Linked DNA regions of Homo sapiens: region 2 is linked to region 1. Evidence: promoter capture Hi-C in human tissues and cell types (Jung and others, 2019). All regions are on one chromosome and are shown on one strand. Each heading gives the region's core, a stretch centred on a gene start or on the middle of the fragment in contact. The rest is flanking DNA. Distances are from core to core; before and after follow the strand shown.

Region 1 (6,208 bases), core at 2,181-4,680:
CAAGAAAGAGCTGAAGGGGGGACCACAGCACCAGTTCCTCCCAACCCCAGCACCTTCTGCTTCTCTGCCCCGTGGCCCTATTTCTATTCCTCCCTCCTTGGGCTCGTTTCATCTTCTCCCTGACCTAAGCCCTCGACCTGGGATTGACAGCTGTGGGTACAGACGGGCATGACTGAGCCCCGCTGGTCTTGCTGAGGTCTAAAGAGAAGAGTGGCTGAGAGCAGCTAGCGTTAGTGACAGGAATTGATCCCCAAGAGTTTCTCTCGTGCAGCATCCCAGCATCTGTGGTTATGATTCCTGCCCCACTTTGGAGGGAAGAGAATAAGACTCAGAGAGGTTGGAGGACAAAGCCACACAGCTAGTAAGCTCTAATTCAGCCTGCTGGGGGCTTAGCCCATGCTCAGAGCCACCATCCAGGCAGGCTCCTAAGTCTTCATTCATGGTTGTTTGCATTGCAAAGCCTTGGAATGAACTACAGCAAAACTCTTTGTTTTTGTAGGGAGCTAAGTTTTCTCGATGTGTAATAAGAATCTCAACTTTTAATCATATTTTGTCCACTTTGGAAGAAATCATCTAATTTGTTATTAAGCAGACACATCTCCTGACTTTTAATTGCAAGATATTAACTAAGCTTTCCTTTTTTTTGATGATTTGGGGACATTTGCTGGAGGGAGCAGTGACAGCCTCACTCCAGCTGTGTTGGTGCCATCCCTTGGGAAGGCAGGAGGTTTCAGGAACAGGAATCGTTGATGGGAACAGGTGTTTAGGCCAAAGAATTCCGAAGAGGTTGGCATTGCTGCCTTCCCAGATAGTGGACGGAAACAGGTGGATGGAGGCCAGGTCACCAGCGGGGATTAAGACTCATGCGATCAAAGCCCAGGAAAGAGGGTAAGTGGGAGCTGAGGCTCGGGCATTAAGACAACATCTGGAGTCTCTCCCGTGTGGGTTATTGGGTGAACGGCATTCAGGGCCAGCTGTGTCCTTTCAGATAAAACTAGAAGATTCAAACCTTCTTTCATTACATCTGCCCTCAGGGACAGGCAGGTTCTGAGGATTAAAGGCAGGGACTCTGCAGCTGGGTGGGTGGCTGGGCCTTCCTTCCGCCTCTCTCTTATCTATGCTTATTTATCCACATTGGATGGGACAGGAGTCTCTGTGAGAGGCAGTGCTGGCCAGTAGTTTTGAGCCAGATGGCGTGGTTACCATTCAAGGGAACGGGTCACCACTTAGCACAGTTAGCAGGCTGTGTGGCCTTGGGGAAGTCACCAAGCCCCTGGGTGCCTCTGTAAGATGAGAAGAAGAAGAGCATCTACCTTTGGGGCTTGCTATGGGGCTGCACTCACAGAGCTGCATGATGCCTGGCGATGCTGTGGGTTATTGTTATTATTATTACTACTACTATTACCTGCCAAGGCTTCCGTCTTTGGGTCTGTGGTTAGGGACCTGATGGTTGATCCTTTAATCCTTTTTTTTTTTTTTTTTTTTTTTTTTAGTTTTGTATAAATTATGTTTCATATCTTTTTATTTCAGAAATAATCATTGCTGGAAATGCTGTTAAATTTTTTGGAACTCTTCTTTTTTTTTTTTTTTTTTTTTTTATTGATCATTCTTGGGTGTTTCTTGCAGAAGGGGATTTGGCAGGGTCATAGGACAATAGTGGAGGGAAGGTCAGCAGATAAACAAGTGAACAAAGGTCTCTGGTTTTCCTAGGCAGAGGACCCTGTGGCCTTCCGCAGTGTTTGTGTCCCTGGGTACTTAAGATTAGGGAGTGGTGATGACTCTTAACGAGCATGCTGCCTTCAAGCATCTGTTTAACAAAGCACATCTTGCACCGCCCTTAATCCATTTAACCCTGAGTGGACACAGCACATGTTTCAGAGAGCATGGGGTTGGGGGTAAGGTCATAGATCAACAGGATCCCAAGGCAGAAGAATTTTTCTTAGTACAGAACAAAATGAAAAGTCTCCCATGTCTACTTCTATCCACACAGACCCGGCAACCATCCGATTTCTCAATTTTTTCCCCACCCTTCCCGCCTTTCTATTCCACAAAGCCGCCATTGTCATCATGGCCCATCCCCAATGAGCCGCTGGGCACACCTCCCAGACGGGGTCGTGGCCGGGCAGAGGGGCTCCTCACTTCCCAGTAGGGGCGGCCGGGCAGAAGCGCCCCTCACCTCCCGGACGGGGCGGCTGGCCGGGCGGGGGGCTGACCCCCGCCACCTCCCTCCCGGACGGGGCGGCTGGCCGGGCAGAGGGGCTCCTCACTTCCCAGTAGGGGCGGCCGGGCAGAGGCGCCCCTCACCTCCCGGACGGGGCGGCTGGCCGGGCGGGGGGCTGACCCCCCCACCTCCCTCCCGGACGGGGCGGCTGGCCGGGCAGAGGGGCTCCTCACTTCCCAGTAGGGGCGGCCGGGCAGAGGCGCCCCTCACCTCCCGGACGGGGCGGCTGGCCGGGCGGGGGGCTGACCCCCCCACCTCCCTCCCGGACGGGGCGGCTGGCCGGGCAGAGGGGCTCCTCACTTCCCAGTAGGGGCGGCCGGGCAGAGGCGCCCCTCACCTCCCGGACGGGGCGGCTGGCCGGGCGGGGGGCTGATCCCCCCACCTCCCTCCCGGACGGGGCGGCTGGCCGGGCGGGGGGCTGACCCCCCACCTCCCTCCCGGACGGGGCGGCTGGCCGGGCAGAGGGGCTCCTCACTTCCCAGTAGGGGCGGCCGGGCAGAGGCGCCCCTCACCTCCCGGACGGGGTGGCTGGCCGGGCGGGGGGCTGATCCCCCCACCTCCCTCCCGGACGGGGCGGCTGGCCGGGCGGGGGGCTGACCCCCCACCTCCCTCCCGGACGAGGCGGCTGGCCGGGCAGAGGGGCTCCTCACTTCCCAGTAGGGGCAGCCGGGCAGAGGCGCCCCTCACCTCCCGGACGGGGCGGCTGGCCAGGCGGGGGGCTGATCCCCCCACCTCCCTCCCGGACGGGGCGGCTGGCCGGGCGGGGGGCTGACCCCCCACCTCCCTCCCGGACGGGGCGGCTGGCCGGGCAGAGGAGTCCTCACTTCCCAGTAGGGGCGGCCGGGTAGAGGCGCCCCTCACCTCCCGGACGGGGCGGCTGGCCAGGCGGGGGGCTGATCCCCCCACCTCCCTCCCGGACGGGGCGGCTGGCCGGGCAGGGGGCTGACCCCCCTCCCCCCTCCCGGACTGGGTGGCTGGCCGGGCGGGGGGCTGACCCCCCCACCTCCCTCCTGGACGGGGCGACTGGCCGGGCAGAGGGGCTCCTCACTTCCCAGTAGGGGCGGCCGGGCAGAGGAGCCCCTCACCTCCCGGACGGGGCGGCTGGCCGGGCGGGGGGCTGACCCCCCCCACCTCCCCCCCGGACGGGGTGGCTGCCGGGCGGAGACGCTCCTCACTTCCCAGACGGGGTGGCTGCTGGACGGAGGGGCTCCTCACTTCTCAGACGGGGTGGTTGCCAGGCAGAGGTGCTCCCCACCTCTCAGACGATGGGCGGCCAGGCAGAGACGCTCCTCACTTTCCAGACGGGGTGGCGGCCGGGCAGAGGCTGCAATCTCGGCTCTTTGGGAGGCCAAGGCAGGCGGCTGGGAGGTGTAGGTTGTAGTGAGCCGAGATCACGCCGCTGCACTCCAGCCTGGGCACCATTGAGCACTGAGTGAACGAGACTCCGTCTGCAATCCCAGCACCTCGGAAGGCCGAGGCTGGCGGATCACTCGCGGTTAGGAGCTGGAGACCAGCCCGGCCAACACAGCGAAACCCCGTCTCCACCAAAAAAAAACGAAAACCAGTCAGGCGTGGCGGCGCGTGCCTGCAATCACAGGCACTCGGCAGGCTGAGGCAGGAGAATCAGGCAGGGAGGTTGCAGTGAGCCGAGATCGCAGCAGTACAGTCCAGCTTCGGCTCGGCATCAGAGGGAGACCGTGGAAGGAGACCGTGGGGAGAGGTAGAGGTAGAGGTAGAGGTAGAGGTTAGAGGTTAGAGGTTAGAGGTTAGAGGTAGAGGTAGAGGTAGAGGTAGAGGTAGAGGTAGAGGTAGAGGTAGACGTAGAGGTATCCTTTAATCTTTCTAGGACAGGTACAGTGGCTCATGCCTGTAATCCCAGCACTTTGGGAGGCCGAGGTGGGAGGATCACTGGAGGCAGGCGGATCACTGGAGCCAAGGAGTTCAAGACCAACCAGGGCAACATAGTGAGACCTTGTCTCTACAAGAAGTTTAAAAAATTAGCCAAGCATGGCGGCGCATGCCTGTAGTCCCAGCTACTTGGGAGGATGAAGCTAGAGGATTGCTTGAGCCCAGAAGGCAGAGGCTGCAGTGAGCAGTGATCACACCACTGCACTCCAGCCTGGGCGACAGAGCAAGCTCCTATCTCAAAAAAAAAAAAAAAAACAGATAATCTTTCTAGGACTTGATTTCCCAGGCTCCATAATGGCAATCTGCGCAGGCAGCTTCTGGCTCTGAGTCTTCCTGTTTCTGTGGTGCCACTGCCAGCACAGGGAGGTCATTCTGTATCATGTCACTTGCTTGGTGTTTTACACCCATGGATGATGAAACAGCAACTGCAGCCTGGAGTGCTGGGAGGCAGAGAGAGTCTCGCTTCCCAGGCCATCTGGCTTACTGTGAAGGCCAGAAGCAGCACAGCCTCTCTTGGTCACCAGGGATCAGGACTCAGGTGGAGAGGGTGGGGCAGGGGCTGGCAGTGGAGACAGGTCCACACTGGGAACCAGCTGTGCCAGGCAGTGTGGCCCTGAAGCCCCTAAGGTGTGTCAAGAGGGGTCTTTCAGGAAATGGTTAGAGAGTGCAGGTGTTGTGTTTCTCTCTGACATGTAAACATATGTCTTTCTAGACAGGCAGGTCTCCCTATACCTGCCTTACGTGGGAAGCACGTCCGCAGGAGAGGTGCCACCCAGTGCCTCCAGCACTGATCAGGCCTTTCTCAGGTGTTGGGCAGGGAGAGGCAGAGCCCAAGAGAAGCCTCAGCAGAACACTAACAGTGGAAAGGAGGCAGTGAGGTGGAAGCAGCTTCTTTGGTACATGCAGAAAGTTCTAGAAAGGCCTTTTGGCTTAGAATCCTAGCTCTATTCACGTGAAGCAGCACTTCGGCATGAGGTGGTGCTTGAGGGCCCCTTGTCTGAGTAAAACGTGGATGTTGTAGCTGGTTTTGGGGGCTGTGGGACTCCCCCATCTGCACACCCCCTACTCAGCCGATGTGGTAAGCATTTAGCCACAGCAAGTGCTTACTTAGTATTTGTTGGTTCCTGATACACAGAAATCTCTGTGATCCAAGCAGTGTTTCTCCCATAGGACTCTACCCTGCCAACCCTCAGCTCGGCTCAGCTCAGCAGCTCGCTAACTGTGAAACTCGGACGGACATCCTGTGATCACTCCAACGCTTTAAAATTCATCAAAGCGCAGAGCGCTGCCTGGCCGCAGCCCATTGCTCTGTTGTTCTGAGGGGCAAGGCCACAGCGACCTACAGCAGGGAAGAGACAAACACAGATCTGGTGCAGAGATTATTCGGGTCATCGATGACAGGCAGGCAAGAAAGCAGGAGCGTTTCCTGCACGGCCACACCCAAGCAGAACCTTTTCAGGGTACTCATCCCTTTTTAGGCTGGGCTTCGCTCCCCAGCGAGGTCAGCAGGGCCAGCTGATTGTTTTTATTTTACAGGTGTGGGATTCCCTCTGGGGTCTGACTGCCACACTCAGACACAGAAGGGGCAGCAGGGGCAGGGTTTCTAGAGACAGACCTCCTCAGTCAAATGCTGGCCACTTACCAGTCAGCAGGCTTGGAAATGTTATTTTGCCCCTTTGTGCCTCAGTTTCCTCAGATGTAAATGGAGATAATAAATGTACCTATCTCGAGGAATAAATAAAATCACCCACAGGCCAGCTGTGATGGCTCATGATTGTCATCCCAATGCTCTGGGAGGCTGAGGAGGGAGGATCTTTTGAGGTCAAGAGTTCAAGACCAGCCTGGGCAACATAGTGAGACTCTGTCTCTACAAAAATTAAACAATTGGTGGTGTGCACCTGTAGTCCTACCTACTCGGGAGGCTGAGGTGGGAGGATTGCTTGAGCCCAGGAGGTCGAGGCTGCAGAGAGCCATGAGTGCGTCACTGCACTCTGGCCTAGAAGACAGAATGAGACTATCTCAAAAAGTAAATAAATAAAACAGGTCGGGCGCGATGGCTCATGCCTGTAATCCCATCAC
Region 2 (7,111 bases), core at 1,677-4,176, 170 kb after region 1:
TGTAAACATTTCCCACAGAATCCTCCATGCTCTCTCTCCCCATCCACCTGCTGGATGAACAGGACTCGGGCTTGGAGGAGGAGGAGCCACAAGACAGAAGGGCCTGGGTCCCTGAATGACCAAGTGGAGCAGAGCCCCGTGCCAACCCACACTAGACTACGACATGAGCAAGAAGTCAACTCTCAACGCTCGTGGTGATCCACACTGACACCAGGCAGTGTATGATACTTAAACTATTCTGACAAACACCATCAGTAAAGAATCATGCCAGCAATTTAAATAAAAATGAGTGATGGTGTTTCTCTTTTTAAATAAGATAAAAGAGAAATAAAATAGAAGATGGTACACAATAAAAGCCACCAAATAAATTAAAAATGTATACAACCCCCAGTCCTAGGGATGTAAGGACCAGAGCATCCATCTGTTGATGCTTCTTGCTCTTCTTTGAGAGGAAAGGAACATGAGGACTGTAAGTAAAGGAGCCGGGGCTATTTATTACTCCGCATGCTAACATCTTCTCATGTCCTCTAGATGGTTGAGAGATGAGACCCACGTGTCTCAGAAGAGCAGGTCCTTGGCCAATGAGAGTTATGGAAAGAAGAGAGAGTAGCAGCAGAGATAAAGGGGGAAGCTACCTCCCTTCCAGCCTCTCCTTCCGAGGACTCTTAAAGCACCAAAGGACACATGCATGGAGCAAAAATAGAGGATTGCATCGGTTCCTGAGGCTGCTCCAGGGCCAGTGACACCACCAGGAATGAAGCTGGACAATTCAAGGAAGGGCCACATCACAGCTTTCTGTGGAATTTTTTTTCTTTTCTTTTTTTTTTTTTTTTGAGACGGAGTTTCGCTTTTGTCGTCCAGGCTGGGGTGCAATGGTGCGATCTCAGCTCACTGCAACCTCCGCCTCCTGGATTCAAGTGATTCTCCTGCCTCAGCCTCCTGAGTAGCTGGGGCTACAGGAATGTGCCATCACACCCCGCTAATTTTTTGTATTTTTAGTAGAGATGGGGTTTCACCGTGTTGCCCAGGCTGGTCTCAAACTCCTGACCTCAGGTGATCCACCCGTCTTGGCCTCCCAAAGTGCCGGGATTACAAGCATGAGTCACTGCGTCCAGCCTCTGTTGAATATTTTATACGAAACAAAATCACGTGTCTGTGTATAGTGTTCCATCTTCTTAAGAACAATGCTACTTTTTAGAATAGGAATTTCTACATTATCATGGAATTCTTTTGATTTCTAAAAAAAAACCTTCAAAACTTTATGTTTTAAATTTAACAAGTAATATGTTTATTATAGAAAAAATTTTAACAGATAAACAAAAAAAGAAAGAAAGGAGCTCAGCAGTAATACGCAGATACAAGAACTGTGACTATTGTCTCAGTGTATTTCCTGAGGCTCCCTCCTGCAGTGAACAGACACAGACACGTAAGAGGGCATCTGTATGTGCGGGTTAATAACCTCTTTTTTGCACTTAATAATAGGAAAATACCCTTCGGATTTTTTCACATGGCAATTTACAGGTTCCTGTGAACATCATTTTCTTGCACCATCATCTTTCTCAATTGTTGCTGAAGTAATTTTCTTATTAAGGTGGCATCCATGGGCCAACAGCCCTTGCAAAACAATTTAGGGGTGATCCCTGAAACTCCTGGTTGCTAAGTGTGGCCTCCAGCCCTGCAGTCCATCTGCACACCATCCCTTCCTCTTGTGCTTGCAAGAAAATGCAAGTAAGTACTAGGGACTGTTGCCACCAACCTCATTTTCAGACACTGGGGACCCTGCAGGCTGGTCTCACTGTCTCCTGGGCTCTCCGCCTTCACCCGCGTGTGACCCTGAACTGTGGCAGATCTGGGGACCATCCACCAAAGAGCCCTCCCACCCCCCTCCTGCTAACCCCAGACTCTGCCCCTCCTCACGTGCCCAGGACAGGCCACGCCCCCACAAGGCCCTGAGCTTGGGTCTGGATTGATCTGAGGGACGTCTGCGAATGCCCCACTTGCCCCGCAGTTGGTCTAGCCACAGGCGTTAGAGGCCCTCCTGACCCATGAGATATGAGGGGGAGTTCTGGGGGCTGGGGGTGGGAGATCCTGGACAAATGTCCTCCTTGTTAAAAAAGAGACCCCATGCAAAGCTGTTCACTTTTCTGCTCTGAGCACCGCCATGGGCTGACTCGCGCCCCCTCCTATTCACCTCCTGCCCACCCCACTCAACTCACCCTTCACTCTCTGAGACGTGGCGTTCACACTGGCGGCTGCTGAGGTCTCTGGGTCAGAGTGTGAGCTCCTATGGGGGAAGAATTCCTCCCCTAGTCCACACCACATGTAGACCCGGAATGCTGATCCAAAGGAGACCAGTGCCAGGGCACATCAGCAGGAATCTGAGCCCCAAGGCTGCTGCCACCAGGGGCCAGGAGCCAGCTTCGGGCCCCTTTCTTTGTCGCTCCCCACCCCACCCTGCCCAGCTGCGGTCCCTTGGTCCATAGAAAGCGTAGGCCGCTAAGCCAAAGCTGTCACTGCTGTAATATGAGGATTCAGAGGAGATGTTCTGATTTTCTTTCTGCAGAAGGAGTCAGGAATTGTTGTGGCATTGTTTGGGTATTAATAATCTTCCTAAATCAAATATCTTTAGGCTACCGTATCATGCTGAGGACAGCCATCTGCTATAGTGGCTTCCAATTTTTTGGACATGACCCACTTCTTACACCAAAACCCATTATATAAAGTGTCACAAAACATACTTTCCTTTTCTATAAGATGTACTCTGATATTTAATATATATTTCTACATTCTTGTATGCCACTACACGGATTTCATGGCCCTCTAGCGAGTAGGAAAATTGCTGATGGACTGAATCCCCCTGCACCTCCTGGCTGGCCTGATAGAATAGCCAGCCCTCTCATTTTGTCCATGTACAGTTGTGCAGGTTGCACACTGCACAGCTCCAGGATGTTATAGTGCCCTGTTGTTTCATAGTACATAATGGGATGGGGTAGCTCTGTCAATAGTGTGGGAGCAGAGGGAAAGCTTCCCTTCTGCTCCCTGTGAAGGCTTGCTGAAATGACTGAAAAACAGATTAACGGGGGGAAAAAAGCAGACAAACATTCATGTGTGTTAGCATGGGAGCCATATGAAATATGAGACTCCAACAAGGGCAAGATGGTTGAGACTTAAATACCCTTTTCATGGAGGAGAGGGAAGTGGGGGCCCGTGGGCCATTTTAGGGGAGAGTCAGTGATTCTTAGGAGAAAGGAATGGACGCAGGAGGCAGACATTATCTTGTCAACGATTCTCTTAGGAAACTGAATAGGACCAGCAAGTTATGGGAAGGTGAGGGGTAGAACTGCACCGTGAACACAGATTTTCTTCTTATGTGACAAAGCCTCCAGGGTCATCACTTTGAGCTGCCCTCAGAAGAACAGATGAAAAGTCTGGGGGTGGGGGTGACCTTTAGGCTTTTCTCTCCTCTGGTGGCTAAATCTTTCCTGGTTATTTGATCAGATTCCTCGGGAAGAGATCTTAAGACAATTGTATTTCTTTTGGAAAGAAGTTTCCTAAGTCGGATAAGGAAATTCCAGGGAGAGGCTCTCTGCACTTGGGGGCTGGAGGAGGAAACAAGGTTAGAAAGTCCAGAATTCTGAGACAGCTTCGAAGGACTTCCAATGTCCTTTAATTCAAGTGCTCGGCTTTGCCAAAGCACCGTGCACTGGGGTCTCGTTCTCCTCATCTTAGCGCTAGCAAATGGTATTGGAATTTTTCTAAATTAACTTATCAGCAAATTAAATTAATACTAATTTGTCAAAATTAAGTGAGTCACTAAAGCTTTCTGGGCCTCATCTGCATTTCTAAAATGAAGCTAATTACAGTGGCCCAGTTTACCTCCCAGAGTTGTGTTTTAAAGCTTAAAGAAGCATGAGGTGTTGGTGCAAACCGGATATTGGCCTCGTCCTCACTGTTGCTGTTGGTGCTTTCTGTTTGAACTTTCCAAGTTTCGCAGAGAGCGAGGCCTTGCTCTCACACTCAGCCGAGGCAGAGGACGCCCCTGAGCTCTGCTTCATCATTTACAATTCCCTCGGTGAACACACGTTTCCTGGGTCCCTGTGGGTAACACACGGCTTGCCCTGGTCATCCTGTATCCAGTGACTGGAGCTCGGAGGTTCAAAATCTAAAAGCAAATGTGAGCCCCTCGACTCCAGCTCCCTGACCCTGGGTGCCCCGCTGAGAGCAGCAGTGCATGCGTACCCTCATTCGGGAGGCCAGCCTTTCATCACTGGGAGAGGAGACAGGTAAGCAAATGTGAAGTAACTGCCTCCAAATTGTCTTGTGCTGTGTTGCCCTGTTTTAGGAAAGGTGCCATTAATCCAATTTGTTTAAAAAATAAATAAATAATAGGGAAATAACCGCAGTGCTGAGATGCTGGCTGCATTTTGCTGAACAGACGAGGCTTTGTGCCAGTGTGAGGAGCTACCGAGTGAAGACATCCCACCTACGGTGGCAGCAGGGGTGGTCTCCCACCTGTCCCCAACAGCCCCAGGCCAAGGAGGCAGCTCTCTGAACTCTGGACTTTAGTGAGTGCTCCCCCGCTGAGCCTCCCCGTTCCCGCTGTTCTGAAGACAGAGACCTCCGCGAGCGGAGCACGAGCTCCCAGCCTATCATGAACATCGAGCAAGACGTGGCACGTGAATTTCATTTCTCAAGGAGAATGGCACTAAAATCCTTGGCTAGGGAGAATGTTTCCAACAGAGCAAGGCAGTCAGTCCCCGGGAGCTGAGGTCCCTGTACATCGTGTATTACTAAACAGCTGCCCCTTCCATCCTCTCTGCTTCTACAGGCTGTCCCATAAAGTTGATAACATTGAAGACTTCTGAGCTAGCTTGAGAATGATGTTGATTACAATAATGAGCCTTATTTTCTAATCATTCCCCACACCACATGACCCACACCTTCCTCCCTTCTAGCCTGCTTGGCAGGTCAGCCTCAGATGATGAGGAGGGAGGCCAACCGGGCCTGGCTTGGAGGCTCCCCAGAGCCCCCGCAGTCTGCTGAGTGTGGGGCGACTGTCCATGGGTCTTGCTCTAACTCAAGGGAAGCTGGAGCACCCTTCCTCGAGGGTCTTGCTGCCTGGCTGGCCAGGAGGACAGTGTGGATGGAGCCACACACCCTGAGGTCCTTCCCAGGAAGGGAAGTCTTCCAGCCTCGCACCAGCCTCTATAACCATCACTCAAAGGTGGGTAAGCAGCCCTGGTACTCAGAAACCACGGCAGCCCTATAGAGGGGATGCTTTGCTTGAAGGGGCCTTTTAGTACTGTCTTTGCTGGGATTCTCCCAGGGCTGTTTACCTGGAAGGTTCTGGAAACACTAGAGTGGAGGGGAAGTTCTACTGGAAGGCAGCCAATGAACGCTGTGTTTGCAAGCCGGCTGCCATGACAGGGGCAGGGTCGGGGGGGCAGAAGTCTGCTGGGAAAATCCTAGAAGCCGGTGCAGAACACGTGCAGTGGGACGCTCGATGTGGAGTATTCACAACCCCTGCTGTAGGGCCTGAGAGCTGATTCCCTCCCTGCCAGGCTGAGTGCTGTCAGGCAGGGAAGGCGGAGCTGGGCAGGGGAGTCAGGCAGGCAGGGAAGGCGGAGCTGGGCAGGGGAGTCAGGGGAGCCCCAGGGAAAGCAAGTCCTGCTTGGTCCTGCCAGCTGCTCCCCGGACCTACGGGTCTGGGAGTCACCAGGCTCCAAGGAGTGACCCCCCAACCATGGTCAGAGCACCCCTTGCTCATGGGCGGGCGTAGGGAGCCAAGGAAGGAAGGTCCTGGGTGTGGGCATGGAAAGGCTCTTCATGGAGACCTCTGCTTGCCCTTCGGGGCTCACCCAAGCTTCCTGACTGATGCTGGGGCCTCACTGCTGGGCCTCACGTGGAAAGAGCCACTGCACACCCCTGGGGCTGGGGGATTTCTGTCTGAGCCACAATGCTGCTAGTGGCAAAGTATGCAGAGTAGAAAAAAAAGCGGGGTCCCCACATATCCCGGGGCTCCTGTGGTGCAGCCGGACCCCAAGACCCTCCCGCTGCTGAGAGGACATGCAGGCTGTCGTGGGCACCTGGCCCTCCTCTGTGTCTGTCCCAGCCCCACATCCACACCAGGGACTGAGCCAGTGCGGGCAGAGGCCCGCCTGCGGCCACAGCCCTTTCACTGGCTGCTCTCTGGGGGCCTCCTTTGACTCTTCTTCTAAGCAAGGGAGGCCTGGCCTGAGAGAAGCTGGTTTGCACATCTCCCCTGTCCACACTGCCCTCCCAGACCCACCCCCGCCCGAGGCTAGACGGAGAGAATAGCCCGGTATGGACACAGGCCGCTTTGCACACACTGGGTCCGCACAGTGCCGAGAGGCCACTCACTCGCTTTGCTTCTTCCCGTGGCTCCCCTTAGGAACTCGGATTCTCGGGGGAACCCGCCTCACCCCTCCCACAGAGGAACAGCCTCTCCAAGGACCCTGTGGCATCAGCACCCTCAGCTCTGAAGACACGGCCTGTGTTTCTTTCCAGCCTGACTGAGGTCCAGAAAGGAGAAAAAAGCAGGCAAGGGGTCCTGCCGCTCTGTGGCCAGCCGGGCCGGGCTGGGAACACCTCTGGCTTCAAGACTCCTCCAGGCAGGACAATGGGGGCCCGAGACCCCTCTCATTTGGCAGCTGTGTGCCTTCTTTTGTTCTTCACTGAAGGCCAAGCTGAGCACGTGCTCTGTGAGCTGCTGGGTGGAAGGAGGAGAGTAGCCCCCGCAGTAACACCAGCCTGGCCCCCATCCAAGTCCAAGCAGAGCAAGGGCAGAGCTGACTTCACACTGCCAGATCCCCTACTTCCGAATTTGGCCAAGTAGCCTGCTGACGGAAGAAAACAATGCCACAGGAATGTGAATCACAGCAAGGAAGAGTTTTCTAAGTGGGAAGGATGAGAGACCTTCTAGAAGTTTCCAGGGGAAGACAGTGGAGCTCTTTGAAGCATGAGAGTGCTGGGACGTGAGGGGGTCACTCTGCTGTGAGTTAGCCAGAAGCAGGAACTGCTGAGCCACACACCCACCGCCAGGCCATGCTGTTCTCCAACACAAGGGCTTTAAAGACGAGTTCTCCAACAC

Evidence for each region. Contacts are between HindIII fragments. The study calls those that stand out against the background at their distance.
Region 2: a contact is called between a fragment that was not itself captured here and the fragment with the promoter of BLACE in region 1, in 1 of the 25 tissues and cell types used here (H1 embryonic stem cells).

Annotation. Positions count from the first base shown.
Region 1 is chr7:155,364,503-155,370,710 of GRCh38, forward strand. It overlaps BLACE (B cell acute lymphoblastic leukemia expressed), which reads right to left and starts at 3,431. Exons shown (of 6, transcript NR_103545.1): 1 at 3,307-3,431. LOC105375593 (a long non-coding RNA gene) reads left to right here. Exons shown (of 3, transcript XR_928236.4): 2 at 678-888; 3 at 5,300-6,208. The HindIII fragment of the contact is 9,929 bases long and covers 144-6,208 here.
Region 2 is chr7:155,536,608-155,543,718 of GRCh38, forward strand. All of the region lies in intron 2 of CNPY1 (canopy FGF signaling regulator 1), which reads right to left. Among named protein-coding and RNA genes, the nearest start is that of CNPY1, 6.4 kb to the right of the region's middle. RefSeq lists an enhancer at 5,480-6,280. The HindIII fragment of the contact is 3,908 bases long and covers 973-4,880 here.